2 separate regions of the Homo sapiens genome follow, and region 1 is linked to region 2. The links are contacts of gene promoters, found by promoter capture Hi-C in human tissues and cell types (Jung and others, 2019). All regions are on one chromosome and are shown on one strand. Each heading gives the region's core, a stretch centred on a gene start or on the middle of the fragment in contact. The rest is flanking DNA. Distances are from core to core; before and after follow the strand shown. Region 1 has its middle 6.3 kb from the start of MIB2. Region 2 holds the start of MORN1 (MORN repeat containing 1).

Region 1 (2,700 bases), core at 150-2,649, 780 kb before region 2:
GATGGAGAGATGGGAGAGAATACGGATCCCTCCATGAGTCCAAGCCTGACGTGCACTCCCCTCGGGCCTCCTCTTCCTGTGCTCCAGGTTTTCTGTTTCAAGGCCGCTCTTCCCTTCCTTACTGTGTGTCAGCTCAGTCATGGATTTTAAACAATGCTTTCCATATATATATATAATATATGTACTATATATTATATATGTATATATATAATATGTATTATATATAATGTATGTATAATATATATAATTATATATATATGTATTTTTTTTTAGATGGAGTCTTGCTCTGTCACCCAGGCTGGAGTGCAGTGGTGCAATCTTGGCTCACTGCAACCTCTGCCTTCCGGGTTCAAGTCATTCTCCTGCCTCAGCCTCCTGTGCTTTCCATATTTTATACAGATTGTTTGCCAGGCACAGTGGCTCACACCCGTAGTCCCAACTACTTGGGAGGCTGAGGCGGGAGGACCCCTTGAGCCTAGGAGTTTGAGGCTGCAGTGAGCTATGATTGCACCCCTGCACTCCAGCCTGGGGAACAGAGCAAGATCCCCATCTCTAAAAAATAATTAAAAAATAGGCCGGGCGCGGCAGCTCATGCCTGTAATTCCTGCACTTTGGGAGGCTGAGGCAGGCAGATTGCTTGATGTCAGGAGTTGGAGACTAGTCTGGGCAGCACAGCGAGACCCCTGTCTCTACAAAATGTACCAAAAAAAAATTAGCTGGATGTGGTGGCACGAGCCTGTAATCCCAGCTACTCAGGAGGCTGAGGAAGGAGAATCACTTGAGCCCGGGAGGTCAAGGTTGCAGTGAGCCATGATTGCGCCTCTGTACTCCAACCTGGGCAACAGAGTGAGACCCTGTCTCAAAAATAATAATAATAATACCAATAAAACACATTATACAGATCTTTTATTGTTTCATTGAGAAGATCTTGCAGGTGACCTGACTTACCATATTGCTGAAAATAGTCATTGATTTCCTTAATCATTTGATTTTCATTCAGGGGCCAAATCTGGTCCACAAATATGTTATAAAAGTAGGTAACTGCGGCCGGGCACGGTGGCTCATGCCTGTAATCCCAAGACTTTGGGAGGCCGAGGCGGGCAGATCATGAGGTCAGGAGATCAAGACCAGCCTGGCTAACATGGTGAAACCCCGTCTCTACAAAAAATACACAAAAAAATTAGCTGGGCGTGGTGGCGGGCGCCTGTAGTCCCAGCTACTCAGGAGGCTGAGGCAGGAGAATGGCATGAACCCAGGAGGCGGAGCTTACAGTGAGCCGAGATCGTGCCACTGCACTCTAGCCTGAGTGACAGAGCGAGACTCTGTCTCAAAAAAAAAAAAAAAAAAAAGTAGGTACCGGCCGGACGCAGTGGCTCACGCCTGTAATCCCAGCACTATTGGAGGCCAAGGTGGGTGTATCACTTGAGGTCAGGAGTTCAAGACCAGCCTGGCCAACATGGTGAAATCCCGTCTCTACTGCAAAAACTCAAAAATTAGCCAGGCGTGCTGGCACGCGTCTGTAGTCCCAGTTACTCTGGAGGCTGAGGCAGAAGAATCACTTGAACCTGGGAGGCGGAGGTTGCAGTGAGCCAAGATAGTGCCACTGCACTCCAGCCTGGGCAACACAGTGAGACTCTGTCTCAAAAAAAAAAAAAAAAAGGTACCGGCCAGGTGCGGTGGCTCACGTCTGTAATCTCAGCACTTAGGGAGGCCGAGGCAGGTGGATCACTTGAGGTCAGGAGTTCAAGACCAGCCTGGCCAACATGGTGAAACCCCATCTGTATTAATAGTAAATCCAAAAATTAGCTGGTTGTGGTGATGCACGCCTGTAGTCCCAACTACTCGGGAGGCTGAGGCGGGAGAATCACTTGAACCCAGGAGGTGGAGGTTGTAGTGAGACAAGATTGCGCTACTGCAATCCCACCTGGGCAACAAGAAGGAAACTCTGTCTCAAAAAAAAAAAAAGAAAAGAAAAAAGAAAAAACATATTGTCCTGGCTGCTGAGGGGCCTAAGGCCACACACGTGGCAGTTAGCTCAGCCGTGCACCTGTGGGAGTGACAGACCTCAGCCTGGAAGACATTATCTGTGGATCTCCAGTGCAAAAGTGGCCAGTACCAAAATGGAGTCACTTATGTCAAACCCTGAAAAATGGAGCCAGGAGGCCACGAAGGACGGGCTCTCCCAGGTGTGCCAGGAAAGAAACTACGGAATTTCTCAAAACCACAGTACTGCCGCTAAGCTGCCTGCACGAGGACGCTTGCCTGACAAGGGCCGTCTTCACCTCCAGATGAATGCCAACTCCTGCAACAAGCCTGATACAGTTTGGCTGTGTCCCCATCCAAATCTCATCTTGCATTTCCCACAATCCCCACGTGTTGTGGGAGGGACCTGGTGGGAGGTAATTGAATCATGGGGCCAGTTACCCCCATGCTGTTCTCGTGACAGTGAGTTCTCAGGACATCTGGTAGTTTTATAAGGAGCTTTTCCCCTTTGCTCAGCAGGTTTCTCTCCTGCAGCCAGGTGAAGGATGTGTTTACTTCCCCTTCTGCTGTGATTGTTAAGTTTCTTGAGCCACGTGGAACTGTGGGTCAGGTAAACCTCTTTCCTTTATAAATTACCCAGTCTCAGGCAGTTCTTCGTAAGACCGTGAGAATGGACTAACACAAAGTCCCCGTCACCTATGCTCTTTGCTTCAAAGC
Region 2 (2,764 bases), core at 72-2,571:
AGGCCCAGTAAGAGGAGGGCTGGCTTGAAACAACTGCAGGTCCTTGAGAGACCAGAGGTGCTCGGGAGGTGGTGAGGAGCAGGTTGGGAGCCTTGTTGCAGGAGATGAGTGAGCCAGGGGAAGGCAGAGCGGCAGTGTCAGTGAGGCACACAGGGGAGGAGCAGACTCTCCCATCCCCTGCCGTGGCCCTTCAGTGGCCTCCTATCGCTGGGGAGAAAATCCACACTCATACCCAAGGATGGCCTGGCCGGCTTCATCTCCTCCTAGTTGCTGGGTGTGCCACCCGCCAACTCCTGCAGTTCCAGGAATGGGCAGGGCTCCCTCCCTACCAGCTCCTCAGGCACATTTTGTGGGCAGGGTTTATGGGAAAATGTCGGGGAGGAGGGCAGGGGGTTACTACAGGCTACTGTATCTGTCCCAAATCAGGGTCAGGTTCTACCTGAAGATAGTAGTGTTAGCTCTGAGTTCATTCCAGACCCGTTTATTTGATTCTAGAAACAGTTCCTATCAAAACCTGCTCTTTTTTTTTTTTTTGAGACTGAGTCTTGCTCTGTCGCCCAGGCTGGGGTGCAGCGGCGCGATCTCGGCTCTCTGCAACCTCCGCTTCCTGGGTTCAAGCGATTCTCCTGCCTCAGCCTCCCGAGTAGCTGGAACTACAGGAGGCACCACCCCGGGCCAATTTTTGTATTTTTTAGTAGAGACCGGGTTTCGCCATGTTGGCCACACTGGTCTCGAACTCCTGACCTCAGGTGATCCACCCGCCTCGGCCTCCCAAAGTGCTGGAAGTACAGGCAAAAACTGCTTTTGAAACGCGTCCTAGCGTTTCTGGACAGCACCGGCCAGGAAGTCAGGAGGCTTGGTGCTGCTCCTGCGCCTGCCCTCGCCCCAAGTCCTGGGCTTCGGGATCCCCATGGCAACCCCAGGTCCCGCTGGCTGTGAGGCTGCGGCCGGAACCCGGTCTTCCCGGCTAGGAGCCCGCGGGGGGCGACCCCCTGCAGGGCTTGGCCTGCTGCGGGAGGAGGGCTCGGGGAAGGGTGCGAGCCGAGCCCGAGGCGCACGGCGAGTCCTGTGGGAGTGGGGGACGCGGGGGCGGCCCTGGCTCCGCCGCGGCACCTGGACCTCTACTTTCCGAGGTGAGCATTTGGGGGTCGAGGGCGTAGAGCGATCGCACCCTGAATGGAGCCCAGGGCAGCCAGCGACCTGTCCCGTGGCCCGCAGTCGTTACCGTTCCGGGGCGGCCGCCTAGGCGGGTCCCGACGCGGCCCGCGGGAGCTCGGGGTGCCCTCGCCCGCCGCTGCCATCTTGCCGCCGAGGGTTCTCTTAGCGACCAGCAACGCCCGCTTCCATTGGTCTTTGTCGCAAGGGGGGGTGTGGCCACGGGCCTAGTCCCTGAGCCCGCGCAATCTCTGGAGCGAAGCTAGCCGGGCCCGGAGCCAGAGGACGCAGCTGCGCCTGTGCGCGTTTCCGCCGCTGTCGTCTCTTCCGCCGGGAGGCCCGCCCGCCAACGGCCTGCGCGTCTGCGCCGGAAGCGGAAATGGTTGGAGCCCTTGGCCCCGCCCTCGCGCCATCTTGGGGGCCCTGGAGGCGGCGCCGCGGAGGACGGAGCGGAAGTGCTCGCTGCAGCTTCCCGGAGCCGGAGCGCAGCGCCTGCGGCCGCCCGTGCCCCGCCGTCCTCCTTCCCGCGGCCGTGAGGGAGACCGCGGCTCGGCCGTAGCGGAGCTGCGAGGTGCCAGGAAGGGCTGCGTGGCGCGGGAACGGCCGGGCAGCGCCGCCTCCGCTTCTTCCGGGCTGTCAAGGCCGCGGGCGGGCGGGGCCGCGCTGAGGGCCGGGCGGGGAGGGCCGTCGGGGCCCGGGTGGCCGCGGGGACCGTGTTCCCGACCCGCGGCCCTGAGGGGTACGGGTCGCGCCTCGGGGTCGGGCCCGGGACGGGGTGCTGGGGGGTGCGGCGGAGCCCTGGGGCCTGCGAGGGTCGGGGGAGCGGGAGAGGGGCCGGGCGGGGGCTGCAGCCCTCGAGCCACCCGGGCCGCATCTCGTCCGCATCCCCTGCTTGGCATCTGGGGGAAGCGGGCAGTCGCGGCCCCCACAGCGCTGCGAGTTGGGCTGTATTCCAGAGTAATGTGCCCTGTCCCCATCCTGCGTCCAGGTCAGCGCTTATCTGTAGGATTTAGTGTTAAGCTCTGGGGTGAAGGCGTTACTGACGGGCTGAAGGGAAACTAGTTACATCGGTTTTGATCGTATTCTAAATAGGCAATAAAATCATAAATTCTCCAGGCTGACTTAGTACTGGTCTGTGGCCCCACTGATAAAGGTATCGTTCGTTTCTCTGCCAGGTGTCTCACAGCACAGAGGGCTGCTTTCAGCCTAAGTACCTTCAGTGGGCTTTTGCCCTTTTCCCTTTATGAAGAGTAGAGACTGGCCGCTAGTCCTGGAAGCACTTTATTTTTAGTTGAGTTGACATTTCCCAGGAAGATGCAGTTATCCCCGTAAGTGGATAAAGGGTTCTCAGTAATTCAGACTCTCACATGGCTTCTGCCGTATGCCTGAGGTGACGGCGACGGCGGTAACAGTGTGTCAGAGCCAGGTGGAGATATAAGATGGTCAGGCCCAGAGGAGCGGGGAGCCCAGGCTGGAATGTGGCCTTGGGAAGGAGGAAGAGACGGGGTCTGGGAGGGCATTTCAGAGGACTGAACAACACCAGAGGCGTGAAGCTTGGTGCACGGCAGCCGGGGGCTTTCTTAGTCCCGGAGGAATTGGGGATGGGGAC

The links. Contacts are between HindIII fragments. The study calls those that stand out against the background at their distance.
Region 1: a contact is called between a fragment that was not itself captured here and the fragment with the promoter of MORN1 in region 2, in 1 of the 25 tissues and cell types used here (neural progenitor cells).

Annotation. Positions count from the first base shown.
Region 1 is chr1:1,607,868-1,610,567 of GRCh38, forward strand. No RefSeq gene overlaps it. Among named protein-coding and RNA genes, the nearest start is that of MIB2, 6.3 kb to the right of the region's middle. The HindIII fragment of the contact is 9,421 bases long and covers 1-2,700 here.
Region 2 is chr1:2,390,233-2,392,996 of GRCh38, forward strand. MORN1 (MORN repeat containing 1) reads right to left here and starts at 1,322. Exons shown (of 14, transcript NM_024848.3): 1 at 1,226-1,322. The coding sequence starts at 1,301. It overlaps RER1 (retention in endoplasmic reticulum sorting receptor 1), which reads left to right and starts at 1,609. Exons shown (of 7, transcript NM_007033.5): 1 at 1,609-1,726. RefSeq lists silencers at 895-1,024, 1,185-1,254, 1,385-1,494, 1,595-1,894 and enhancers at 1,318-1,612, 1,481-2,353. The HindIII fragment of the contact is 12,081 bases long and covers 1-2,764 here.